7 separate regions of the Homo sapiens genome follow, and all the other regions are linked to region 5. The links are contacts of gene promoters, found by promoter capture Hi-C in blood cells and fetal thymus (Javierre and others, 2016). All regions are on one chromosome and are shown on one strand. The core of a region is centred on a gene start or on the middle of the fragment in contact, and the rest is flanking DNA. Distances in the headings are between cores, read along the strand shown.

Region 1 (4,171 bases), core at 1,198-3,697, 1.8 Mb after region 5:
CTCCTCTTCCCTCAAGGGAGAATTAACAAATGAATAGGAGGAGGGTTAAGACACACCATAGCTCAGTTCTACTCCAGTTTCTTTTATGTAAACTCTAAGATTATTGTATTTTGTAAATATTATCCTTGGAGACCTTGTGATATTGATGTGAGCTGATGTCAGGAACAGGTCGAGTTGGGGAGTTGGGATGGGGTATAGATGCCAAAAGCCACACCCAGGAGCAGAAACTAGCAGGTATTCAGTGACATCAACACAGAAACAGGGCCTGAAATATTTCAAGGCACGTTGATTACCACCAAGATGGTGAACTAGCAAGGCCACAAGCTACCCCCTCCAAAATTAACTCTGGAAAAACTATAGAAAATAGAGGAAAAAATGGATTTCAGGAAATAAATTTAAGAATATAAATAAAAACAGAAATCCCTGACATGTCTTGAGGAGTCCAAAGGCACTGTTTAAGTATTGTGGATGTCAAGGGGGAATAAGGGGAAAGTGGAAGCAGGATGGGCAGAGAGTGGATAAGCTAACAGTAAGAGGATTGGTTGGAGAAAAGCTTTTACGTTTTTCTTATCCCCCATTCTACCTTGCCATCCCATGTTACCTTGAGACAGTCTTTGTCCCTTCATTACAGGAATCAGCTGTGCCAGACTGAATCTTCCAGCACAGATGTTCTCGGAATAAGGACAGAATGAAAGGAAGTAGGGATGAGGAGCTAGTGAAAGTAGGTATGGACTCACCAGCTGGCCTTGAGCGCTGATTCCTTCATATTCCCCCATCCTCTTATAAACTATGCAAGCTGCCTCCTCATATGAAGCTGTTGCCTAAAGCTTGAATTTTTAATACCTTCCCAGATTATTTTTGTATGAGGCACAGCAAATGGAGGTGATCAAAATAGATTTTGTATGAGTCTTCTGCCTTATCCTTAATTCACCAGGATTGACACAGAGCTAGACCTGGCCTTACATAGCTCCTTCCTCAATGCACATAACCTAACAGAGCAGCTGATATACTAGAGAAACACGAATTTGGAAGCTTAAATAACACCACCCTATACATTTGAAGACTACCGTACTTCAAAAGGAAACTAGATAACATACACTATTTAAAACAGAACTAATGTAACAGAGGAATCATTTAGAATATTTATAGTAAATATCAAAAAAGATAGGATATTGGCATGATACAAGAAAAACAAATTATAAACTATAAATTGGGTGTAAAATATATTAATTGAAATAAGGAATACATTGGTAAGTATGCAGAGAAATCCAGCTTGGAGGGGGCAGGGAACAGTGAATTAAAAGACTAGATTGAATCTCTATCCTAGAAGACATCAGAAAAAAGAATGAAGGGAAAAATCTATTTCTATCTATACAGATAGATAGAGATACGGATATATATAATGACAACTAAGAGATGTGGTAGAATTGAAACCGTTAGTATATATGCTAGGTAGGCATAAGAAAAGGAGAGAAGATTTTAAAAATATGAGAAAAGAGCTGAAAGCGTGGAAATAAAGCCAGTATTAAAATAAAAACACCTCGAGATTGAACTGTTAAGGAGAAAAAAAAATTCAAATTTAGATTATGGAACATTTTAAGAAGAAAGAAAATGAGAATATTATAAATACAAAGAGAAAAAGCAGGTTACTTCTAATAGAACAAGAATCAGTGTGAAAGGAGACTAGTAATAATAAAAATAATGGGGGGAAGGAAGAAACTTTCAAAGGTAATGGAAATGTCTGTGGCCTTAGTGGTGATAATTTCTCGGTGGTACACTTATTCCCAAACTCATCAAGTTTCATACATTAAATACATGTAGCTGTTCACATACATTATACCACAATAAAATGTTTAAAAAAATCAGAGTGACATCAAAGTTTTCATTAGTGACCCTTGATAAGAAAAAAATGAAACTCTTTTGTACTGAAGAAAAATAACTTTGAACTAAATTTTCAATCAAGTGTGGATTGCAATAAAAATATTTGCACACACAGAAAGTCACAAATAATTTGCTGCATGAAATGAAACACTTTTAGGAGGAAATGCTGGAGATATGAGAATTAAGGGTATTCAAGTGTTTTGATAAAATTTATTATTGTTCATAATAAAGGTAAAATCAAAGAAACAGAAATGATAATATATACACAAAATAAAATTTAATACAAATAACTTTTGGTGACTGGAAATGGAGGGGTGAAATGGGGGACATAAGGAAGGATAAAAGTACTTGTCTTGTTGGGGAAGTATATAGAAAATGATGTATTTAAGAAGGTAATTGCAAAAAATAAGCATGAATATAGGTCTTTAACAGCAACAACCTAAGAAATAAAAATAAAATTACCAATTCCTAAATCAGCCAAAGAAAGTATTATTGATGAAATAAAAAGGGAATCAAGAGAGATTACAATAAATAGAATATATAAGTAAAATGCCTAATAAATCCTAATTAATATTACATTAAAAATGTGTTAAATCACTTAGTACATATAGATACACTTTTTAAATTTTTTAAAGCAGTTTTAGGTTCACAGAACAATTGAGCAGAAAGTACGGAGTTCCCATATATGCACTACTCCCACATATGCATAGCCTCCCATTATCAACATCCCTCACCACAGTGGTACATGTTACAATTGATGAACCTACATTAACACATCATTACCACCCAGAGCCCCATAGTTTACATTAGGGCTCACTCTTGGTATTCTATAATGACATGTATTCTTGTATCCACTATTATAATTTCAATTGCTCTAAAACCATCTGTGAGGCCAGGCGAGGTGGCTCAGGCCTGTAATCCCAGCACTTTGGGAGGCCGAGGCGAGCGGATCAGGAGGTCAGGAGATCGAGACCATCCTGGCTAACAAGGTGAAACCCCATCTCTACTAAAAATACGAAAAATTAGCCGGGCGTGGTAGCGGGCGCCTGTAGTCCCAGCTACTCGGGAGGCTGAGGCAGGAGAATGGCGTGAACCTGGAAGGCGGAGCTTGCAGTGAGCTGAGATCACACCACTGCACTGCAGCCTGGGCCACAGAGTGAGACTCCGTCCAAAACAAAAAAAAAAAAGAGCAAAAAAACACCCCTCTGTGCTCTATGTATTCCTCCCTACCCCCAACTCTTGGCAACTACTAATCTTTTTTTACTTTTTTACCATAGTTTTACCTTTTCCCAGAATGTCATGCCATATAGCTGGAATTATATAGTATGTAGCTTTTCAGGATTAGTCTTTCACTTACTAATGTGAATTTAAGATTCCTCCATGTTTTTCATGGCTCGATGGTTCATTTCACTTTAGCACTGAATACTGCTCCATTGTCTGCATGAACCACAATTTACCCATTCACTTACTCAACAACATTTTGGTTGCTTCCAAGTTGTGTCAAAAATGAGTATAACAACCATTCTATAAACAACCATGTTCAGGTTTTTGTGTGACATGTTCAGGTTTTGTGTGTTTTGTTTTCAGTTCTTTTTGGTAAATACCAAGGAACATAACTGCTGGATCACATGGTAAGAATATGTTGTTTTCTTAAAAAAAAAAAAAAAAAAAAAAAAAGTGACATTGCCTCATCCACACCCATGGGCAAATTCACTAAACATGAGACTTGCTGCAAAAAAAATTTAGTTGTCATTGTCTCACGGTTACCTGGCCAATAATTAAAACAAAGATGTGCTTTCCTTGAGAATCTGAAAATATGTATATCTTAACACAAACTTTTAATGTTTAATATTGCTTTATTATTTTTCCCAATTTATAAAAGCAATACTTAATTATTGTAATTATCTCAAAAGTTCAGTAAAACATTTTAAACCTCGGAGAAAAATTTTCTCACAGTTCTACCGCCAAATGTCAAGCTTCACAAATACCCAAATGTATCTTCATCTCGTCCTTCCAGGTATCTCATGTAGAAGGCCAAGACTACATTTGTAAGCACAACTTTACAATAAATTTTTTCATAAATTATTAAAACTGTTTGCAGGATATGTATACCATGATTTACTTAACTGTTCTAATGTTGAAATATCTTTGTACATAAATATATGTCTGATTTGGGATTACTTCTGTAGTTTAGGTTCTTAGAAGTGATATCTCTTGATACATGTTGTCAAGTTGATTTCCAGAAAGCTTATACTAATTTACACTTCCATTAGCATTATATGAGAGTGTT
Region 2 (3,977 bases), core at 730-3,229, 1.9 Mb after region 5:
AATATGTATATTTCTCTATAATTATCATTTCTTGCCTTGATTACTCTGCTTTTTTCTTATTTTCATATTTTTCTACAGCCAAACCCAAGCTTCCATCAAGCCAAATTCAAATACTGTATAGTTGGCCCTCCTTACTGCATCCTCAGATTCAACAATTTTTTTAAAGCAATATCTACATAAAGTGAAGCACAGGAAAAGAAAGTATGCCTGTATCGGCTCCCAATCTAGGAAAAGGTAAGACAAGCGATTAGGTGAATCCCATGAGTCAAATGTAGCTGAATTAGGAAGACTAAATCAGAGGAAATAAAGCATAAACCATTTAAATCAAAATCAGAATAATAGTAAAAATTTGAAATATATTTGTTTTCATGGAGCTAGCTGGGGGAATGCATCAATCATGGTTCTTCTTTAATTTTTTTAATGTTTTATGATACTTTGACATCTTGAGGTCTTGCAGATCCAGGCAGGGACTGCCCCTCCTAGAATTAGCCATTTCCTAGAGATGGCAAACATGGTGTCCGTGAGCATCTTTTTGGCAAGCAAACTGACCAATCCTGAGTCCATACTCCCTTTATATGTCCCTTTATCAGGTTTTGCAGTCAGGGACAGTATGCCCCTTTCCTACATCACCACAGGATCAGGTACCAAACATCTAAGGACTACCTCCAAAGCCCAGAATCATCTATAGTAATTCAAAGTATCTCCTTCTAAGCTGGCTCAGCATACCTACCCTGCCTCACTTACTTCTTCCCACAAAAATAATACAATAAAAGCTCTGGTCCATCCTCTCACTCCTCTTACTTCATGACCAACTCTGGTGGTTTCCCAGGTGGCTATGCATGGCATCACATGGTATACCGTCTTCTCTTGGGAACTGTGAGTAACAAATTATCTTCTCAATGGCAGTAGCCTCATAATCTGTTTGCTTGCCATTCCTGAATAAAAGTGAAATCCTAGATACATTTAAAACAAGGTGCCTTTCTCATATCTCTTAGAAATAGCAGGTAAGCAATCCTATGTCATATCTTCTGCCCCATCCCCTCCCAACATTGAGGTAACTGCTGGAGGTGAGGGCAGCATGTTGCAATAAGAAGAACCTAGGGTTTGGGAAGAACGTGGCCAAGGGTCTAATTCTATTTCTGCCACTTTCTAGCTGTTATGTTGAGTAAGTTATTCAACTTCTTCAAATATCTGTTTCCATATCTATAAAAGTTATCTACCTTGAAAAGTTGATATGAAGAAATAACATAATTTCTAACAGAGTATTGGAGATCTAGTAAGTACATTGCAATGCTGAATTATTTTTCTTTTAGGGTTCAATTAAAATTTATGAACAAAAATATGTTAGGTGTTGTTTTTTGAAGATCTAAAAGTCAATGTTAGGCCAATATCTAGAAGCTACAAGATGGATTTTGGCTCAGTATAAAAAAAAGAGCAGCTTCTGATTTCAGCTATAACATATACAGAACATGGAACTGTGACTCCATACTATAGGACAAAAGCTGAAAAAACCTAAAACTCAATGAGGTTTTTTTAGACTTATCAGAAAATTTAGGTCACAGGCCAAAACATCACCTCAGAACCTGAAGAGACAGGGAAATACAGAGAATTACAGTTGAGATCAGCTTACCTGGAGCAAAAGATGCTAGAGCAATATATTAGCAGGAATACAAATGGTAGCTTTGATTAATTGCTAGAAGTGAAATGTGGACTAACACAAAAGTGAGAAACTTTTGGAGAATGCAGTCCTTGGGTGGAGGCAAAGCACAATTTCATGGGTTTTATATCAAGGAATCTCACCGGGTTTTCAGGGTAAACAGCTAAGAAAAACTTCTCCTGTTTCTGGCAGAAGTAGATGGATAGTAAACATTTTGAAATATGGTCATAATATCCATATTTGGAGGGCATACGGCTAGAATATTCTCTCCATACCTAAAACCTGCTCAGCACAGAGGAAGACTTTACCAGAGCCTTATCTGACCTGAAAGAAGGGGAAGTGCTCAACTGTCACTCCCTCATCTTCCTGTATCACCTAAGGGGGAAAAAAGGAAGTGGAGAAACCCTTGTAAAGGTCACATGCTAGGGAGATGGGTCACTAAAAGACTAAGTGTAAATCATAAGATTTAGAATGCTTCTCATTGCACTACCTCTTACCATGGTGTCAAAAAATCTGCAGTTATATAACATTGGATTACAGCTGAAAGATCTAGAGAGGGCAGGCTTTATGTAAGGAAAAGATTTTAGGAAAACTCAAAGACATCAGGAGAAACAAAAAGACACTTTGGTATCTACAACTACAGCAAACATTAAGCATAGACCATCTACTTGTCAGAGTATACAACCATATGCTGAAAACCTATTTACCTCAGTTCCTATTACTCACCATATTACATAGTACATCCAACAAGAAATTATAAGACATGTCAAAAGGCAAGAAAAAACACAGTAAAAAGAAAGAAAGCAAGTATCCGAACCAGACTCACATATAGCACAGGTTTTTTTTGAATTACCAGACAGGAAATTAAAAATAACGATTGTTACTATGTTAAGGGCTCCATTAGTCTTGCTAACGGTCTATCAATTTTGCAAGTGGGCGAAGGATATGAACAGACACTTCTCAAAAGAAGACATTTATGCAGTCAAAAGACACATGAAAAAATGCTCATCATCACTGACCATCAGAGAAATGCAAATCAAAACCACAATGAGATACCATCTCACACCAGTTAGAATGGCGATCATTAAAAAGTCAGGAAACAACAGGTGCTGGAGAGGATGTGGAGAAATAGGAATACTTTTACACTGTTGGTGGCACTGTAAACTAGTTCAACCACTGTGGAAGTCAGTGTGGCGATTCCTCAGGGATCTAGAACTAGAAATACCATTTGACCCAGCCATCCCATTACTGGGTATATACCCAAAGGATTATAAATCATGCTGCTATAAAGACACATGCACACATATGTTTATTGCGGCACTATTCACAATAGCAAAGACTTGAAAACAACCCAAATGTCCAACAATGATAGGTTGGATTAAGAAAATGTGGCACATATACACCATGGAATACTATGAAGTCATAAAAAATGATGAGTTCATGTCCTTTGTAGGGACATGGATGAAGCTGGAAATCATCATTCTCAGCAAACTATCGCAAGGACAAAAATCCAAACACCACATGTTCTCACTCATAGGTGGGAATTGAACAATGAGAACACATGGACACAGGAAGGGGAACATCACACACTGGGGCCTGTTTTGGGGTGGGGGGAGGGGGGAGGGATAGCATTAGGAGATATACCTAATGTTAAATGACGAGTTAATGGGTGCAGCACACCAACATGGCAAATGTATACATATGTAACAAACCTGCACGTTGTGCACATGTACCCTAAAACTTAAAGTATAATAAAAAAAAGGTTCCAATGAAAATAGTAGACAACATAAAAGAATAAGTGGGTAATATAAACATAGAGATGATAGCCTAAGAAATAATCAAAAGAAAATACTGGAAATTAAAAATAGCCACAATGGAAATAATTGATTTGATAGGCTAAAACTAAAGAGATGGAAATTGATAGGCCATGCTAAAACTAATAAAGTCAAAGTGGCTATATTAATCAGACAAATATCACTTTAGAACATGGAAAATTATTAGGGCTAAAGGGGACATAATATAATGATAAAAGAGTAATTCTCCACACAGAAAAAAAATATTGATTATATATGCAACTAGCATTATTCTATGACAATATAAGAGGCAATTAGGCAAGAAGACTCCCACCTCTGTGGAACCTAATGCAGCAACATGGCTACACTGGATTGACCCAAGAAGGCAAGCAACAGCTCCTTGCAGACCCAAAGCTTGCCCAATGACCCTATCAAGGCAGCGAGAGTCCTACCTTCGCATGTCAGAGAAGAGAAAGACCTACACTGGCTTGACCCAGCAAGGTAAGCAGCAGCTCCACACAGACAAA
Region 3 (3,605 bases), core at 690-3,189, 1.9 Mb before region 5:
CATATTATTCTATATCCTCAGCATTTTATATGCAGCCAACTTCAGTCAAGAGGAAAATAAACCCATTGGCAGCTTCTAGCAGAATTCAGATTCACTTAGTAGCAGACAAATACCTTTTAATCTCACAACGCATGCTGAGCACCCACTAGGAAATGTACAATCCTATGGAAGGCACATAAGAATTATATACAAAAAAATCATACACCTTTTCCTTTTTATTCCACATCTTTGGAAGCAGCATTTGGGTTTATTGAAGATTGCATTATGAAATACCTGCCTCTAGATGGCAGCAAAGTTAAACGTTTTTATCGGTTTGAACATATACTTGTTCATTTCATCCTCTACAAAATTCCAAGATGTGAAATGAAAGGAACTGAACAGGACAGCCTGAAAAGCTTTAAGAATTGCACTTCCCACATATCATTTTCTTTGGTGAATCTGCCTGAATGGCTGGGATGTGAGGGAAAAACTATGGTTTCAGTTTACCCTAAAGTAAATTTGACCTTTAAAATAATAACAGTAACCGTAATAACAACTACAAACTTCTAGATAGACGGAATAGGTTTGAATACTAAGAAAGTTCCTTTTATCACTGACGAAATCTCATATAGCACTTTATTATTCCCAAGGGTATAGAACCAAATTACTTGTCGCTCCAATAACCCAACCAGTTGGAAAAACTGATACCATACTTAACAGATAAATAATCTTTTAAAATAACCCCATTACAAGACAGAAAAGGAACAAATATTCAAAATTAAAAACTCGTGCTTCATGTACACTGTCATGAAAATTGAAAGAAAACTCACAGAATGGGAGAATATATTTACAAAAATCATTTATCCCATAAGGGGCTTGTATGCAGAATATATAAACAACTCATAATTAAATAATAAAAAGACAAATAACCTAGTTTAAAAATAGGCAAAGAAATTGAATAGGCATTTCTTGAAAGAAAATATATGAATGGTCAAAAAGCATTTGAAAGATTCTTATTAGTCATCAGAGAAATCGAAATCAAAACCACAGTGAAATCTAAGTTCAGCTCTCTAGGATAGCTAGACTCAAAAAGTGAGATAATAGCAAGTGTGTGTGAGGGACATGGAGAAACTGTATCCCTCATATATCACTGGTGGGAGTGTCAAGGGGTGCAGATATTTTGGTAGTTCGTCAGATGGTGAAACATACAGTTACCACATGACTCAGTAATTCCTCAAGAGAGAGAAAAACATGTATCTACACAAAAATTTGTACATGAACGTTTATAATAGGGGTCCCCAATCCCTGGGCTGCAGGCCAGTAAAGGTCATTTGTGGCCGGTTAGGAACCCAACTGCATGGCAGGAGGTGAGACCTGGGTGAGCTCTGCCTCCTATCAGATCAGTGCTGGCATTAGATTCTCATAGGAGAGTGAGGCCTATTGTGAACTGTGCCTGCGAGGGATCTAGGTTGCCTGCTCCTTATGAGAATCTAACTAATGCCTGATGATCTGAAGTGGAACAGGTTCATCCTGAAACCCTTCCCTCCTCACCAATTTTTTCATGGAAAAATAGTCTTCCATAAAACTGGTCTCTGGTGCCAAAAAGGTTGGGGACCGCTGGTTTATAACATTATTCATAATAGTGAAAAGGTACCTATCAACTAATATTTGGATAAGCAAAATGTGGTCTATCCATACAATAAAATGTTATTTGGCCCTAAAGGGAAATGAAGTATTGATGCATGCTTTCAGATGGATGAACCTCGAAAACCGCATCTGAGTAAAAGAAGTCAATCACCAAAGGGGCCACGTATTACACAATTTCATTTGTATGAAAGGCCCAGAGTAGGCAAATTAATAGAGACAGAAAATAATTAGTGGTGTTTCAGTATTAATGGTTGTGGGGTATACTGGGAATGATACCTAAAGGATGTGATGTTTATTTTTAAGGTGATGAAAATGCTTTAAATTTTTTTGTGGTGATCGTTGCACAGATCTGTGAATATACTAAAGTTCCATTGAATTGTATAGTTTAAATGAGTTGTCTGTATGGTATGTGAATTGTATCTTTATGACTTTTTTTTTTCTTTTTTGAGACAAGGTCTCACCCTTTCACCCAGGCTGGAGGATAGTGGCATGATTAGAGTTCACTGCAGTTTTGACTTCCCAGGCTCAAGTGATCCTCCCACCTCAGCCCCCAAGTAGCTAAGACTACAGGCGCATGACACCATGCCCAACTAATTTTTGTAGAGGTGGGGTTTTGCCATGTTGCAAAGACTGGTTTTGAACTCCTGGGCTCAAACAATCCTCCCGCCTCGGCCTCTCAACTTGCTGGGATTACAGGTGTGAGCAACCATGCCTGGCCTGAAGTTGTTTTTAAAAAATAAAAATAAATACTTCCCAAACACAAAGCACCATAAGGCACTATAAGAAATCAAAATGTTATATAGTTCCATCCTTCATATTTGGCCATCTAAACTTCTAAGAAGATTAGAAAAGTAGGGCAAAGTCAAGGCATCAATTTTCACACTGTAAAAGTGTCAGGCCTGTGAGTTAAATCTGTAGTCTTTGCAATTCCCTGCCTGGAGGAAACTTAGAGATAAACATCTTAAAGGATACCTTCAAAATGACTACAGATTGCTTTAAGTCTAATGCATAGATGTGCAAAGGAGTTCATGGCATGAAAACGAAAGCATATATAAATCGAATCAAATAAATAATGAGAAACTTGAAGATAAAAAGAGAGCCAAGAATGGAAAGTGGCCAGTCAATGCTGGCCTGGAAAAGACTACTTTTAAAATGGGAGGACAGAAGCACAAATGAATGAATGGACAATTACGTGCACTGATTAATAAAACAAAGCCGTGGCCATGCATCGCCTCAGCACTGAAAAGCGTCATTGGAATTCCTGAAAAGATGGATTTGTAAGCATTCAAGAGGATGGAATTCAGATGAAGAGGCCTGAGGTACACTTTCCTGGTAAAGGAACAGAGGCATTGACAATAGCCAGCTTATCTTTACAGCTCAATTGTAATAGAGAAAGTACTGTCACCAGCAAGCTGATAAAGCCCAGCAGAAGCTACATGATTGATTTCTACCAAACACATAGGATGCAGTTTTCTTACTTTTACAAAATTCTGTTCACTAAGTTCTATCACAAATTTCTAATTTTCAATAACAATACCCTGAACTTTAGATTTATCCAAGGACCATTACAGATTTTATTTTTACTTAAAAGTTTTGTTGTTAAATTTTTAAAGAATGAATGCCCTTAGATTTTAAACAGGATAGAAATTTAACCTTTAGTCCTACAGAGTTTCGAAAAACAATGATGCTAACCTTATTTTTTTCACTTTTACTAAATTAAAGCTAACTGATTACGTTGAAAAAGAAAAACACATCAAAATGTTAAACTTTCAAAAGCTGCTCATCTATATACTAGCTGATGGACTTTTAAAAAAGACTTAGCCAGTAGCATTTCAATCTCAAAATTATTTAAGCTTTTTAAATTTAGAGACTCTGAAAAGTATTTTATAGTATACGTCTTGATAATAACAAGCTATAACATGTTAGCAAATTAGGCAAATTTTCTTCAGCGAAAAAATTTAAATTGAATTTAGCAGTCC
Region 4 (3,700 bases), core at 268-2,767, 1.8 Mb after region 5:
TAAATCACAAGGAAATGATATTTGCAGTCTAGATAATTTGTGACTATTTGATACTCATATCAGTCAGTCAGGACTCTGTGGTTCCAAGTAATTAAACCTGACTTCTGTTAGTTGAAGCAGAAACTAAAGAAGGTATCATCTTTTAGAACCTAGCCACTTAAAGAATCAATACAGGTCTGACCTAAAGTGCTTAGTTGAATGATATTAACTCAAAGACTATGTATGTGTATTTGTGTGTGTGTATGAGTGTGTGTGGGCATGCTGTATAAAGGTAGATTATACATGTATGTATATGTCTAATATTGTAAGTGTGTGTATTACACATTGCATACAACTATCTCAGACATTCAAAATTTGCAAAAAAAAATTTACCTTTTTCTTTGAAATTCTGCAGTCAAGATATCATAATTTTTCTGCACAATATACCAGGAAACAAAACATTTGCATTAACTCAGATAGTAAGTAGACTATTACACCATAATGTATACTATCCTCCAAACTAGCCTGGTCAAATAATATGTTACATGTTTACAGATATCGTATGACTGTCAAACAAATATAAGGAAATTCTATTTCTGGAATGGTATTATGAGAAGCTGAATGGGCCACTCAGTGAAATGAACATAACTGGTAATAATAATTAAAAGTAATGTCTCTGGAATTATTCTAAAGGCATACAGCCAAAGACGACACATTTATTTAAGAAAACCTACTAAAACTCAGTAAGAACAATGAGACTGGCATTTGAACGATGACCTCTCTCTCTGCACTCTCAGCATAATGTGATGGAAACTTCCCTCAGGCAAATGTAGCTAAGAACACAACTATCCCCCTAGTGGAAGGGTATGATATCTTCTGAGGAGGAGCAAGCCAGTGGAATTTTTTTTTTTAATACTCCTTTCAGCTACTTTGCAGAGGCTAAATTCCAGGCAAGTTCACTGAAGAGGTCAGTGGCTCGCTTTATCCACTGAGCCCCACTCATGGGTGGGGGCCTTAGCTTACGGACAACATGCTGAGAACACCAGGCCCCAATGGCTTTCATACCAACTCATTTATAAGGAAGAGTTTCCCCACCTAATCTGTAGAAAAGAAGCATGCCTAGAAAACTAGGGGTGTACATGCCTTTCCAGCAGGGGTAACTCAGCGAAAAGTGGTCCAAAGTCCTGGACTGCAGCTCTAGGAACTTGGTTCAGAAATTTTGTCCAGGGGCAGAGGCAAGTCTCAACAGAGAACTCTGAAGCTTTACTGAAAAGAACTGACTTCACTTAAGTAGAGTCTGGCGAAGTTCAAGCCTAACGGTGCTTTCCAAAACATTGAAGGTGTTAATAAAGCAATTACATGGAGGTAACTTCATGAGAAGAATAAGATCAGTCATACTCAAGCCGCTTTAGGAGAGACGAGGGGAATGAGACAGCTAAGAAAAGCAATCCTGGAGTCATAAAAACCTCATATAGTGGCCCCAAATACTATCTGGGCAAAGGTCCTCAATTTAATTGGAACAGTCTATAGAACAATATATGCCCCATGGAATTTTTGAAAACAGAGTACCTGATCAGCAACTCGATGTGATCAGTGTAAGAAACAGTTAAAGATAGCTCTGCTGAAACTACTGTCATCCCAGGGTGACTTTGAACATGTCCAGAGCTATAACCTCTGAGGAGCGACTTCAGGAACTTCATGCCTTGGGACAAATAGACTTCACTAAAATATTCCAGACAGTCACTAAACAAACAGAAAACAACTACTGCTACTCAGAAGAATCAATAAGGAAATAAAAGATGTGGACAAGCTTATATACCAACCAGATGTAACAGACATCTGTAGAACACTGCACCCAACAACAGCATAGTACACATGAAACATTCTCCAGGGTAGAGTATGTGTTAGGCCATAAAATAAGCCTCAATAAATTAAAGTAATTGAAATTCTACAAAGCATATTCTGCAGCCACAACTGAATAAAATTAGAAGTCAATAACACAAAGAAATTTGGGAAATTCACAAATACATGAAAATTAAACAACATACTCCTAAATAACCAAATAATCAAAAAAGAAATCACAAGGGAAATTAGAAAGTGCTTTGGATATAAATTAAATGAAGACAAAACATACCAGAGCTTATCAGACGCAGTTAAAGCAAGTACTTAGAAATCTGTAGTTGTAAGTGCCTATTATTTTAAACAGGGAAAGATCTGAAATCAATAAGGTAACATTTCACCTCAAGACACTAGGAAAAAAAGATCAAATTCTACTCAAAGAAAGATTAAAAAAGCAAATAGTTTTGAAATTAATAAAATACAGACTATAAAAACAATAACGAATAAACAAATCAAAAAGTTGTTTTATTGAATAGCTTAATAATTATAAATATTTAGCTAGACTGAAAGAAGCGAGAATGCTCAAATTACTAAAATCAGGAATGAAAGAGAACACTACTAGACTTAAATAATAAAGTATTGTCAGGGAATACTATGAAAATTATGTGCTAATAAATTAGAAAATTTAGATGAAAGAACAAAACACTAGAAAAACAAATTGCTAACACTGACTCATAAGGAAATAGAAACTTCATATAGACTTAACAATGTTTAAAGTAATTGAATTGATATTTAGAGAAAAATAAACTACTCACAGAGAAAATACAAAAGCTCAGGCCCGTTTACTTCAATGGTGAATTTTAACATTTAAAGAATTAATACCATCTTTTTACAGACTCTTACAAAAAAATGGAGCAGGAGAAGTGTATACTCCCAATTCTCTGAGTCCAGTATTACCCCGATACAAAACCAAAAAAAGAAATAAAAGGAAAAGAAAATAGGAGAACTATATCTATATCTCTGTCTATCTATCTATCCATCTATCTATCTAGAGAGAGGCAAAATTTCTTAACAAAAAGCTAGCTCACCAGATCCATCCATATATAAGAGACTAGACATTGTAACAAAGTAAAATTTATCCCACAAATGCAATACTGATTTAACATGTAAAAATCTATTAATGTATGCAACATGTTAATGCAATAAAGGACGAATAAAATTATTGCAATAGAACCACAAGTAGCATTTAACAAAATCCAACACCTCTCCATTATGAGAATACTCAACAAACTATGAATATAAACAAAATTCTTCAATTTGATTTAGGGAATCTACCAAAAATCAATGGACAGCTGCATGCTTAGTGGAAAAACTGTATTTTCTTCATAAAATCAGGAACAAGGCAATAATGTTTTCTCTTACCACTTCTATTCAGTATTATACTGAAGTTTCTAGTAAGGGTAAAATAGCAATAAAGTGAAATAAAAGACACCAGGTTGAAAAAGAAGTAAAACTATGTATCTTTGTAGATGGCATGATTTTGCATATAAAACTCTTCTAAGACATTCACCACAAAACAAATTCTGCAAGGTTGCAGCATATAAGATTGCTATACCAATATCTTTTGTATTTCTATACACTTGCAAGGAAAAATCCAAACATGTAATTAAGAAAACAATTTATAATAGCAGCAAAAATTGCTTAGAAATTTAACAAAAAAGTCAAAACTAATACTCCATATCAGATAACTTAATTAACAATTAACACTAAGATAGTAACAAGCCTATATAAATCTACAGATTCAGTGCATTCTCTGTCAAAATTCCAGCTGTGTATTTGTAGATATTAATAAGTTGGCCCAAACACTCATATGGACATTCAA
Region 5 (3,997 bases), core at 1,006-3,505:
AGATTCATGATTTGATTTCAGGTTGGCTCCCTGACTAAGAATTGTTTCAGACCACCTAATACTTGAAGTACTAACTGCTCACCTTGAGAAACATTCAGGTATTTCAGCTATTCATTTAAAAATTCCACAACTGTAGCTTTTTGGATGTATTTCCAAAAGCACCTTGGTGTGCATGTGCCTCACAACTTATAGACAAAGTCCGGCATTTAGTTAATCTATGGGATTATATTTTTATATAACTTTTAAGAATCTAACTTTCTGTTCAGTTGTCTATGGAATCAGAAAGAAATTAAAATTAGCAGTTTTTCTCCTCCTTTCTCAATTTTCAGAAGTTTTAAATAATTTAAAGGATACACCAATTCCTAAGCAAAAACACTGGCACTTGTAATAATCATTTCACTGACTTTCTATTTTCAGATAGGCTTTAATATCATTCCCTCACACTCCAGCTATTTGTCAAATTCTATTCTTTATATTGAATTTCCCTTTTTATAACTTTAACTCTGATTTTTTTTGCCTTTTTCCCTTTAATGGACTTAGATGATCTTTTTATGTAATATCTTTAATTTGTTATCATTAGTTTTATATGACATATTCTTACTCATACCTCTTTTCGATTAGAGTCAGAGTAAACTTATGCCTGTTAAGTTTAAGACTCAGCATACTAGTCCCCACTTAACTTAGAATAATTTGAGCATGAAATAGGAGAATATGCAAGCAACCATGAGAATTGCTCAAAATTGACTACAGGCATTTTCAAAAACAGTTAATGACCTAATCATTATTTTTTAAAATACTGAGAGTCACAATATTAATCATAATGAACTCCTTTAAGCTCCCTGTAATGGTCATAAGTACTTCTGTAATTCTGTTGCAATTCAACAGTAATCGATGATATCTGCATTAATTTTTAAATTTGACTATTTGTCTATAATTTTAAATGCTAGTATTCTAATGAACATCTACTTCTTTCATCCTTATTTCCACAGTCGTAATTGAGAATCAAAGTAGAAGTATTGACCCTCTAAATGATTTTCTCTTTTAAATTAAGAAACAAATGAATGAAATGTAGGTAAGGCATTGAACATACAACAGTTTAAAAGTTTTTTGCTTCTCACCTGCATTTAAATTACCACATGAAATTGTATTTTTCTTGGGAGAACAGTTCTAAGATTTAAAAGTAATATAATTCTAAAATATTTAGTGGATTCTGGTTCTTTCGCAAATAAATATAGTTGAAACAACTTATTGTTCAGGTCATCAGAGTAATTCTCAGGTTTGTGTATGTGCAAATTGATATTCTCTTCCGTATATCTCCCTACAAAACATGGTAAGGATGTCTGAACATAATTTTTTAATCTATCACAATCCTATACAACCTTTAGAAAAAAGCTCAGCATAATCCAAGATACAGTTTTTCTCAGTCTCACGAACTTTGTAGAACTCCACTTATAGAGCATCCCTACTGAATTTTAACAAGTTATTGCAATGCCAGATGCCCAATTATTTAGTCTCGGAAACTCATTGCTCAAACATAAGGCATACATTCAGTACCTGAGAACGGCATCCTATTTTCCAAACATTTAGTTTCTTTTGTAGAAACATCCTCACTTTATCCTGGCATTTATTGCCTTACAATTTGCAATTTGCGTGTAGGAATTGCTTACTCTTATTTTGGGTGGCATTAGGAGATATACAAATAGGTTATATTTACTCTTGTTTCAACTTTTTGCCATAAAATCCCAGCAGGAAATAAAGTCGTGTTTTGTTTCCTTTATTTAAAAAAGCTTCATCTTACAGTTTTTACATTCTGGCAACATGGCAAGAAAGGATGGCTTTGCAGAACAGAGTGTGTCAAAAATCCTAAGTGGCTGGGAGATGAAGTGCACAATCACAGAACGCAGTCACTGGCAAAGGAATGTCAGCCACTTACCAATAAGATGCCAGACTCCACTGTCCTTCCTCTGTGACTCTCAATTCCTGTCTCCCATCCTCCTGCCCATCAGCACAGTTCAGAGAGAGCGGTTCCTCGGGTCCTTTGCAGCCTGTGGCAGAGGCGAATTGCGGAGTTCTTAATCATTCAGAGGGAATCCTCCAGCTTGCCCTGCCTCTCGCAGCAGACGGGACCCAGGTAACGCATCCTCTCCGCCCCGAGCTTTAATGGCACTTTGGCTGCCGCCTTCTCGCAGTTCCGCTCCCCCACGCCGTAGTTGGTTATATTGGGAAGTAGGTGCGGCGCCTCCTGCGGCTGGTGTGTTTGGGGCTCGCGTGTTTTCCTCCAATGCGTCCGCGCGCCCTGCGCCCCGCGCCTCTGACTGGCTGTGTCCTCCCGGGGCGGCCCCTCGCCCCTCCCCGGCCGCCCGCGCTGTCACCGGCGCCCGCGTCCAGCGCCTCACTGCCTCTTGCTGCAAAGGTTCATTGAGCATGTCCCTGGGCTTAACGAACTGTGCGCCTCCCGGAGGGTGCTCTGTGTTTCTCCACTCGTCTCACTAGTCAACCGGCATTTTCCTTCCCTGCTAAGTACAGAGGACCTGCCCCCCTTCCCCGAGCGTTTCTGCTCTGCAACCCCTCCGTATTTAACATTCATAGATTACAAAGCAAACGTGCTGGCTGGAGTCGGCACGGGAGATCCAGGCGAGAGTCCCTTCCTCCGCTCCTGTCTTCACTCTGATTCCTGTAGTCCCCGGCTCACACCTCTGACAGCAGCAGCACAGACTGACGCGTTCACTTAGGTCGGTTTGAGAGTGGACTTTTTCACTTTGCAGAATTTTCTTAAGTCCTGAATGGGAAGCACTTCTCTTTTGTTTCTGCACTTACGCGTTTCATCTAAGGACTATCAGGCTCTGCCTGTTTATATTTCTCTTTGATTTGGGGTGTTGACTCAGTTCTAAAAAAAAGCGAAGGAATGGTCTCAGCAACCTTTTTTTCGGAATTTTTATATTACAATGGCTGTAATTGGAAAAATAACACAGGTAGTAAATCCACAGTGTGGCAGCTTTAGTGCCATTGTTCTGCCAGTCCTCCTCTCTACTTTTTTTTTTTTTTTCCTCTCAGTCTTTGAGTCGTTTTCCAATTCCCACGATTGGGCTGATGGTAATTGGGTATTTGTTAAATAAATTATATAACATTTCCTTTGCAATATATTTCCATAGAGAATGTGGTTTGCACCTGTATTTAATGGAAAGGAAATCCCACGTACTGCTTTCTATCTCTGTGTCTGTATAAGAAACTGCATGGGAGTCTAGGGTCGCACCCCGTGTCCGCTGGTGTCCGTTTTTCATGTGTGTTTGAGAGCAGCCTGACCCTGGACTGACGCTGATTCTTCTGCTCACTGAATCCCCCGATGGGGTCTGACTGGCTCTAATTGGCAAGGAGAGTACAGTGCCAGGCAGCCTGTAGCTGGAAGCCGTCTACCACTAGCCCTGTGTTCTTTCTCTTGCAGTTTTTCTGGTAATTAAAATTAGTCTTTTCCTGTTTCTTGGCTGCTTCTCATTCATCCAATGATGTACAAACACCCAGTCTCTGCTTTTAATCGCTATCCTCAGGATCTAGGCTGATTGCTTGTTCTGTAGCAAAGACAAATTTGTGTGCATTTAATACTTCTCCACTCTTCCATACTTTTTATATTCGTGTTCCTGCTTTCCAGTAACTAGGTTATCTTCTTTATGTGTTAACTGAGGGATCGTTGTGGAGATTCCCCTTCTGTGGCTTTTTCTCTGCCCCACTGGCTCTTCTCCTCTGTCAGGCTGTCGGTTCACAGAGAGAACTACCAGGACTTTTATAACCACATTAAATACATCACAAAATAAATTCAAAGTGTAGGAGCTCTAACGCATTCTTTTTATTGTTCGATGAGGTTTTTGCCTTTAAAAGTGTATAATTGAGCACATGCAGCCTGAAAGAGGGATCGGGAGTGTAGAAAGCTTTCTGAAAGTTCTCTTCCCTTCTTAGAACACCATTCTATATTACCCATGATCCGATAATTTGGGCATTTTGA
Region 6 (4,022 bases), core at 256-2,755, 1.6 Mb after region 5:
ACTATAAGTTTGAAAAAGCAGAAAATGTAACTTAAGATCTTATTTTCAGAAATATAATTCTAAGCAGATTAAATTTAGAGCATATAATTAGTATTAACCAAATTATTATAATACCATAAAACAAGTGCTGTATTATATACTACTATTTTATAAAGATCCACCATATCAAGGACACTATAACTTTATTTGTTCTGAAAAGTATCAGGTCAGCCATGGATGAATACAAATAGTTTCATTTGAATTAAATCAAATATCTTTCTTATTTTAAATATTATGTTAGTGTCTGTATGTCCCATAAATAGTAGCCTGTCTTTTAAGATTTTAGAAATTAGGTACTGCCTACTCCACTCACGTGGGCCTGTATTTGACATGTCATAAAGTTGTGTAATAGACTCTGTCTACTCAGTCTCCAATAGGGCCTGTTGCTTACTCCATGGTCATTTGCTTGTCTATTTGTTTTATATTAATAAATGAAACAGTATACAAATTTCTGTATGATGGCATTAGTTGGTGAATTATGGAGAAGAGGAGGAAACTGTTGAAAAATAAAATTTGGACTCTCATTTCTCTCAGTATTACCAAATGTATATGCTGAAATTAACCTCCAAAAAAAGTATAGAAAATGCTGTATGATATTTTATATATATGTATATGTGTGTGTACATGTGTATACCTATAGAGATGTTTATATATATACATGCTTATAGAGAGGTCATATATACTCTATTTACACCATAAATTAAGGGAAATTCTCTATAGTTCTGTCTCACAAATAAATTAAAGTTAGCAATCTATCAAAACAACCTGATTAAGGGCATTTGCTTTGATAGAGACTATTAAATATGTATTTTAGTATGTTTAGTGGTAAAATAAGTTAATAAAACATATGGCTAAAGGATAAGATATTATAAAAAATTAACAGGCAGATTTGAAAAGAACTAAGATAGACATTCAAAAATATAAATTGAGATCTAAATTTCAATACATATTAATCAGAAGCTTAGACACAGCTAAATATATATTTTTAATAATCTATCTTGGATTGCTGACATGGGTAAACTAAAGCAGATGGAGGAAGTCAAAATTAGTCATACTCAGGTTGAAAGAAAAGTAACAACCAAAAAAATCCTGTACTTATGTAACTTTTCCACTTAAAATTTATATACATATATATGTATGTGTTTGTAAGTATGTGTGCATGTGTGTGTAAGGGCACAGAAAAATATTAAATCATTCTTACACTTTATTTTATTCAGAAATAAATGGTAGCAAAAGAGCTAAAAAACTGAACTCTGATAGCAAATCAGGGAGACTTTTATTTCTTTTATTTTTTTGTTTTTATTTTACGTTAAGTTCTGGGATACATGTGCAGAATGTGCAAATTTGTTCCACAGGTATACGTGTGCCATGGTGGTTTGCTGTACCTATCAACTTGTCATCTAGGTTTTAAGCCTTGCATGCATTAGATATTTGTCCTAATGCTCTCCTTCCTCTTGCTGCCCAACCCCACCCCCGACCTCTGCCAACAGGCCCCGGTGTGTGGTGTACCCCTGCCTGCGTTCATGTGTCCTCATCAACTCCTACTTATGAGTGAGAACATGCGGTGTTTGGTTTTTCTGTTCTGTGTTATTTTTCTGAGAATGATGGTTTCCGGCTACATCCATGTCTCTGCAAAGGACATAAACTCATTCTTTTTTATGGCTGCATAGTATTCCATGGTGTATATGTGCCTCATTTTCTTTATCTAGTCCATCATTGGTACCCAGAGGATAATGGGATTATTGGGTCAAATGGTATTTCTGGTTCTAGATCCTTGAGGAATCGCCACACTGTCTTCCACAATGGCTGAACTAATTTGCACTCCCACCAACAGCGTAAAAGTGTTCCTATTTCTCTGCAGCCTCACCAGCATCTGTTGTTTCCTGACTTTTTAATAGTCACTATTGTAACTGGCATGAGATGGTATCTCGTGGTTTTGATTGCATTTCTCTACTGACTAATGATAAGCTTTTTTTCATATGTTCGTTGGCTGCATAAATGTCTTCTTTGGAGAAGTGTCTGTTCATATCCTTCACCCACTTTTTGATGAGGTCATTTATTTTTTTTTCTTGTAAATTTATTTAAGTTCTTTGTACGTTCTGGATATTAGACCTTTTTCAGATGGGTAGATTGCAAAAATTTTCTCCCATTCTGTATGTTGCCTATTCAATCTGATGATAGTTTCTTTTGCTGTGCAGAAGCTGTTTAGTTTAATTAGATCCCATTTGTCAACTTTGGCTTTTGTTGCCATTGCTTTTGGTGTTTTAGTCATGAAGCTGTTGTCCATTCCTATGTCCTGAATGGTATTGCCTAGGTTTTCTTCTAGGAATCTTATGGTTTTGGGTTTTACATTTAAGTATTTAATCCATCTTGAGTTAATTTTTGTATAAAGTGTAAGGAAGGGGTCCAGTTTCAGTTTTCCTCATGTGGCTAGCCAGTTTTCCCAGAACCATTTATTAAATAGGGAATCTTTTCCCCATTGCTAGTTTTTGTCGCGCTGTCAAAGATCAGATGGTTGTAGATGTGTGGTGTTATTTCTGAGGTCTCTGTTCTGTTCCATTGGTCTATATATCTGTTTTGGTACCAGTACCATGCTGTTTTGGTTACTGTAGCCTTGTAGTATAGTTTGAAATCAGGTAGCATGATGCCTCCAGCATTGTTCTTTTTTGCTTAGGATTATCTTGGCTATACAGGCTCTTTTTTGGCTCCATATGAAATTTAAAGTAGTTTTTTCCAATTCTGCAAATAAAGTCAATGGTAGCTTGATGGGAATAGCATTAAATCTATAAATTTCTTTGGGCTATATGGCCATTTTCATGATCCTGATTCTTCTTATCCATGAACATGGAATGTTTTTCCATTTGTTTATGTCCTCTCTTATTTCCTTGAGTAGTTGTTTGTAGTTCTTCTTAAAAAGGCACTTCGCATCTCTTGTAAGTTGTATTCCTAGGTATTTTATTCTTTTTGTTGCAATTGTGAATGTGAGTTCACTCATGATTTGGTTCTCTGCTTGTCTATTGTTGGTGTATAGGAATCTTGTGATTTTTGCACACTGATTTTGTATCCTGAGACTTTGCTCAAGTTGCTTATCAGCTTAAGGAGTTTTTGGGCTGAGACGATGGGTTTTTCTAAATATACAATCATGTTATCTGCAAACAGAGATAATATGACTTCCTCTCTTCCTATTTGAATATGCTTTATTTCTTTCTGTTTCCTGATTGCCTTGGCCAGAACTTCCAGTACTATGTTAATAGGAGTGGTGAGAGAGGGCATCCTTGTCTTGTGCCGGTTTTCAAAGGAAATGCTTCCAGTTTTTGCCCATTCAGTATGATATTGGCTATGGGTTTGTCATATATAGCTGTTATTATTTTGAGATGTGTTCCATGAATACCTTGTTTATTGAGAGTTTTTAGCAAGAAGGGATGTTGAATTTTATCAAAGGCCTTTTCTGCATCTAATGAGATAATCATGTGGTTTTTGTTATTGGTTTTGTTTATGTGGTGGATTATGTTTATTGATTTGTGTGTGTTGAACCAGCCCTCCATCCCAGGCATGAAGCTGACTTGATTGTGGTGGACAGGCTTTTTAATGTGCTGCTGGATTCGGTTTGTCAGTATTTTATTGAACATTTTTGCACTGATATTCATCAGGGATATTGGCCCGAAATTTTCTTTGTTTTTTGTTAGATCTCTGCCAGGTTTTGGTATCAGGATGATGCTGGCCTCAAAATGAGTTAAGGAGGAGGCCTTCTTTTTCTATTGTTTGGAATAGTTTCAGAAGGTATCGTATCAGCTCCTCTTTGTACCTCTGGTAGAGTTCAGCTGTGAATCCATCTGTTCCTGGGCATTTTTTTGGTTGGTAGGCTATTAGTGCCTCAATTTCAGAACTTGCTATTGGTCTATTCAGGGATTCGACTTCTTCCTGGTTTAGTCTTGGGAGGGTGTATGTGTCCAGGAGTTTATCCATTTCTTCTAGATTTTCTA
Region 7 (4,055 bases), core at 418-2,917, 1.8 Mb after region 5:
CAAGTCCAAGACTGTGGGAATAGGAAGAAAAGTAATTTTAGTAGATTGTTGAGTATAATTATGAGAAGAGCCACCACACCTTAACCTTTAGGTTCTGGACCCTTGAAAACTGGGAAATTTGCAAAAGGTCACACCTTAAACTGGCTTTAAGGCATACATTATACCCTTTGAGAAGGCACACCAATATAATTAGTTGTTATTCTGCAGCTTGCTCTGTAATTGATACCAACAAACCTTTCTATAGTTCTAACAATCCATATGCTTTTGAGTAATGGAGCCCAGGAAACAACCTGTGAATGTCATCAGTGAAAGCCCATTGCAGACCGCTACAAGAGGCTTGCTTACGTGTAGAGAATGGGTCAGCTTTTTAACCTGATTGTTGATAAGCTTCTCTGCCCTGGAAAATCTTCAGTGGGAATTTACATGAATACAGATATACTCATAGTCTACCTATTCTGTAAATTCCTGTCTGGAAAACTCCCTTGTAACCAGACTTCAGGCTGTCCTTTCCAAGTCCTCGGGAAATTGGGCAACCCATTAATCACTTTTCATGAGTCCGTGAGGATCCCTACACTCCAAGCCATCTCTCATTCTAGACGGTGGAAACCCAGATACTTTGCCCAAAGTTCTTCTCACTGGCAAGTTTCCTTTTCATACTATTAGGGTTACCTGTAAGTGAGGTTGTAGTGCAGCACTATGTACTTCCAGCAGGGCTAAATGCCATGCAGACTTATTTATATGCCAAGTCTACACATGGTTAACTAGGCCCCCTGTTAACTCAACACAGGAAACTCCACATGAGGCCACACATTTAGGTATAAAGAGAAGTAGTGAAGTGTTTAGAGCAGGGAGCAGGTAACATATGAATATGAGCAATATTTGTATCCAACTTGCTTGTGCCTTCAAGACTTCCTTGGGTACATTCATAACATACAACTTTCATTTAATAGAAAGTTTATCTTTCTATGTCCAACTTTCTGATTGAGTGGATCAAATTCACATTTAATATTGGGCATCTTGGGTTTCACATTCATTTAATTTTCTATGATCAGGCACTATGGCTCTATCTTGATGCAATTGCAAGATAGAAACTATTTTGCTAAATGTAAAATTTTTGTCAGCAGAATATAGAATATACCATGACCTTATTTCAACATTTGTGGGTCTTCACTGTGATTCTTCTATTGGGAGTTGCTGAAGGCTTCAGACTGTATCTCGTTATGGTATAGACTGCTAAGGCACAATCTAGGCTGCTGGAACACATGACCCAAGTGGTATAGGTGCTTGCATCACAGCCTGGATGTGATACAAATCCTTTTTTTGCTCTGGCGCTGCTAAAACTGGCAGTATTATAGACTATCTGGTAAATGAATTAGAGGATTATACTCCTCCCTCTAAAATCTAAACATTTCTCTTTTCAACCTAATGGGTGGCTCAAAAAGCAGCAACTTGTCTTTCACTTTAAAGGGGATCTTATGACGTGCCCAGAAAACTGGACCCCTAGAATCTCCAAATATATGGCATACCCCTGACATTTCTCACAAATTCTAGTACTCTGTTTTCTAGGGTATCAAGGATGTTTCCAGTTTCCTGCTCGCCAGGTTCAGTTTGCATAAGAGCATCAATATATTAGAAAAAGGTGACATTCTGAAGGATAACAAGATGATCAAACTTCTTCAGGCTAAGTCATCACAGAAGGCATGACAGTTGATATAACCCTGAGCTAAGACAGTATTAGTGTACTGTTATTCTTGAAGAGATAAAAACAAACTGTTTCTGATGTCTTTACTGATTGCACAGAGTATAAATCATTTCTTAGATCAATAGCTACATAACAGTATTTTGTTGATATCAGTATGGAATAGTAGCTGTGACTAGTATAATTGATTGAATGAATTTAAAATTACCTAGTCATTTTCCAAGAGTTATTTGACTTTCTCACAAGCCCCAGAAGGGAACAATAGATATTGTAAGTTTCACTGGGGCAATGCACTATGGACTACTAGAGGGCTGAAGGAAAGAGGTGGACATGGGTTCTAAACTACCTGTTAGATACTGTACTCATTACCTGGGTGATGTGATCTGTACCCCAAACCTCAGCATCATTCAATATACCCATGTAACAAATTTGCACATGTACCCCCATATCTAAAATAAAAGTTGAAATTATTAAAAACAAAAAAGGAGCAAAAGAGAAGTAATAAAAAGAAGCAAAATGAAATAAAATAAATAACTGAAACAATGACAATAGTTGCCAGAATCTCACTACCCATGCAGTTTTGACACTGCTGGTGGAAGAATATTCTCTGAAATTCCCCCAGGGATGCATTATTGCCTTTGGTTTCAATATGGCTAAGATGACAGTTAAGGCATGGCAGGTGACAATTCCAGAGATCCTTCCTACCATGGTACCCCACTGATACATTAAGAAATCAACTGGAGATTCTGTAATTTAGTATCTATTCCTACTCTACATTCTGGGGCATAGAAAATAACCACAGGATAGGTCCATGGATCAACTGGGCTTATCCTGAGATTTATATAGACCAAGACTCCATCTGTCACCTAATTACCATGATCACAGAGGTGACTAGACAACTCCCAGCAACTTTATATACATGAAAATCAATTTAAGACTAACTCTGTGCTTGTATATACATCTCTGGAAAGTATTAACCCAATCCTTTCAAATTTCTATTTTTCATCACTTTACATAATCAAGCACTTCAAAAGAAAATACTGCCCTAGTGGCATGTCTACTTTCCTACCTTCAGGCAAGCATTTTCTTAAAGTAACTGAACAATGACTCTTGCGTTCTATAAAATTGTGCCTTTCTCATTAATTCATTCAACATTTATTTATTAAGCACATACTAACAGCTCAAAAAAACAACTAGGCCTTAAGGATAAGAAGAACAATATCTGCACCTTGCCCCAGTGAAGCTTACATTGTAGGTTGAAGATAAACGTACATAAATACTTAATTATGGTGTGAAAATAAAGACAAAGGAAAAGTAGATCAGTGATAACACATATAAGGGAGACATCATTTGATCTGAGAGGCACCAAAGACTTCCTAGGAAGCAGATTTTTGAGTTAAAGGCTGAGAGATGCATAAGATATTAAATCAAGTTTAGAAATGTGGGAGGGAAGAAAGTTCTATGGGGCTGGAAGATCGGTTCCAAAATTCCAGGCAGACAGAAAACTATGACAATCTTAAGGAAAGCAGATATAATGGAGGATTCTGGAAGTTATACATCAATGATCAGACACATACAAGTTTCAGGTTATCAAATAAAAGTTTAGTTTAAAATGAATAAATTTATACATACCAAAACATATTTTAGATGGTAGCGGGAAGTTAAAACTGAAGCCTGGAGTAAGTAGCTCTTGTATTTGCCCAGTGTTGGCAGATCTAGATTTCAGCAGTTAAAATGAATTAGGTTTCTTGTAATCCCAAGAGCTGGAGTTAATTTCAAGTTGCCCTCTTCAACCCTTCCCTGTACACAAAGTAAACTTGAGAGGAGAGAACAACATGATCACCAGAGAAAAGACAGGAAGCACCAGAAGTAAGGAAAGGGCTTGAGGCAGCTTGCCTGGTCCAGGGACTGACTGCGGGCCAGGAGAGATTTCTGAATACAGGCAAATAGTGAGAGAGAAATCCCCAGGGCTCCACAATCCAAAACGGGCTTCTACAATCTTCGCTACAAGAGAAACCCTCCACTCACTAGGGCCTTGTTCCTGACATACAGAACTGCCTAAAGATTGCACAGAGACGCTGCTGCAGAAAGGGAACCCACAAGGAATCCCACAGGCATCCAAGCCTAGAGCAGCCTCAACGGGGTGCCATTTTGGGAGCTTAAATACCAGAGATCTACAGACATGGCTGTTGCTGCTAAACTGCTCCAAGGAAGGAGAAAGGAGACTGGGTGCTCCCACATATCCCCAGGAGGGTCCGTACCACCCTGCTACAGCCTGCTGTTAAGACTGAGACCTGAATCACACTATTCACAGCTCCTTGCCCATGCTGCTTGCCACATGGGAGGGACCCTGCCC

What was found. The method cuts DNA at HindIII sites, captures the fragments that hold promoters and counts their contacts. A CHiCAGO score of 5 or more calls a contact.
Region 1: a contact is called between a fragment that was not itself captured here and the fragment with the promoter of CNTN5 in region 5, in 1 of 17 cell types (endothelial precursors). The highest score is 6.0, in endothelial precursors.
Region 2: a fragment that was not itself captured here is called in contact with the fragment with the promoter of CNTN5 in region 5 in 2 of 17 cell types (M2 macrophages and endothelial precursors); the score reaches 6.1 in M2 macrophages.
Region 3: a fragment that was not itself captured here is called in contact with the fragment with the promoter of CNTN5 in region 5 in 2 of 17 cell types (naive B cells and endothelial precursors); the score reaches 5.2 in naive B cells.
Region 4: a fragment that was not itself captured here is called in contact with the fragment with the promoter of CNTN5 in region 5 in 1 of 17 cell types (erythroblasts); the score reaches 6.9 in erythroblasts.
Region 6: a contact is called between a fragment that was not itself captured here and the fragment with the promoter of CNTN5 in region 5, in 2 of 17 cell types (erythroblasts and endothelial precursors). The highest score is 6.1, in erythroblasts.
Region 7: a fragment that was not itself captured here is called in contact with the fragment with the promoter of CNTN5 in region 5 in 1 of 17 cell types (endothelial precursors); the score reaches 5.9 in endothelial precursors.

Annotation. Positions count from the first base shown.
Region 1 is chr11:97,213,736-97,217,906 of GRCh38, reverse strand. No RefSeq gene overlaps it. Among named protein-coding and RNA genes, the nearest start is that of LINC02553, 44 kb to the left of the region's middle. The HindIII fragment of the contact is 2,825 bases long and covers 1,035-3,859 here.
Region 2 is chr11:97,141,710-97,145,686 of GRCh38, reverse strand. No RefSeq gene overlaps it. Among named protein-coding and RNA genes, the nearest start is that of LINC02553, 120 kb to the left of the region's middle. The HindIII fragment of the contact is 3,775 bases long and covers 92-3,866 here.
Region 3 is chr11:100,927,053-100,930,657 of GRCh38, reverse strand. All of the region lies in intron 6 of ARHGAP42 (Rho GTPase activating protein 42), which reads right to left. Among named protein-coding and RNA genes, the nearest start is that of SNORD13I, 5.4 kb to the left of the region's middle. The HindIII fragment of the contact is 3,084 bases long and covers 398-3,481 here.
Region 4 is chr11:97,266,855-97,270,554 of GRCh38, reverse strand. No RefSeq gene overlaps it. Among named protein-coding and RNA genes, the nearest start is that of LINC02553, 9.1 kb to the right of the region's middle. The HindIII fragment of the contact is 549 bases long and covers 1,243-1,791 here.
Region 5 is chr11:99,019,207-99,023,203 of GRCh38, reverse strand. It overlaps CNTN5 (contactin 5), which reads right to left and starts at 2,255. Exons shown (of 25, transcript NM_014361.4): 1 at 1,934-2,255. The HindIII fragment of the contact is 2,136 bases long and covers 1,790-3,925 here.
Region 6 is chr11:97,438,456-97,442,477 of GRCh38, reverse strand. No RefSeq gene overlaps it. Among named protein-coding and RNA genes, the nearest start is that of LINC02553, 180 kb to the right of the region's middle. The HindIII fragment of the contact is 1,008 bases long and covers 1,002-2,009 here.
Region 7 is chr11:97,248,587-97,252,641 of GRCh38, reverse strand. All of the region lies in intron 1 of LINC02553 (long intergenic non-protein coding RNA 2553), which reads left to right. Among named protein-coding and RNA genes, the nearest start is that of LINC02553, 9.0 kb to the left of the region's middle. The HindIII fragment of the contact is 2,555 bases long and covers 390-2,944 here.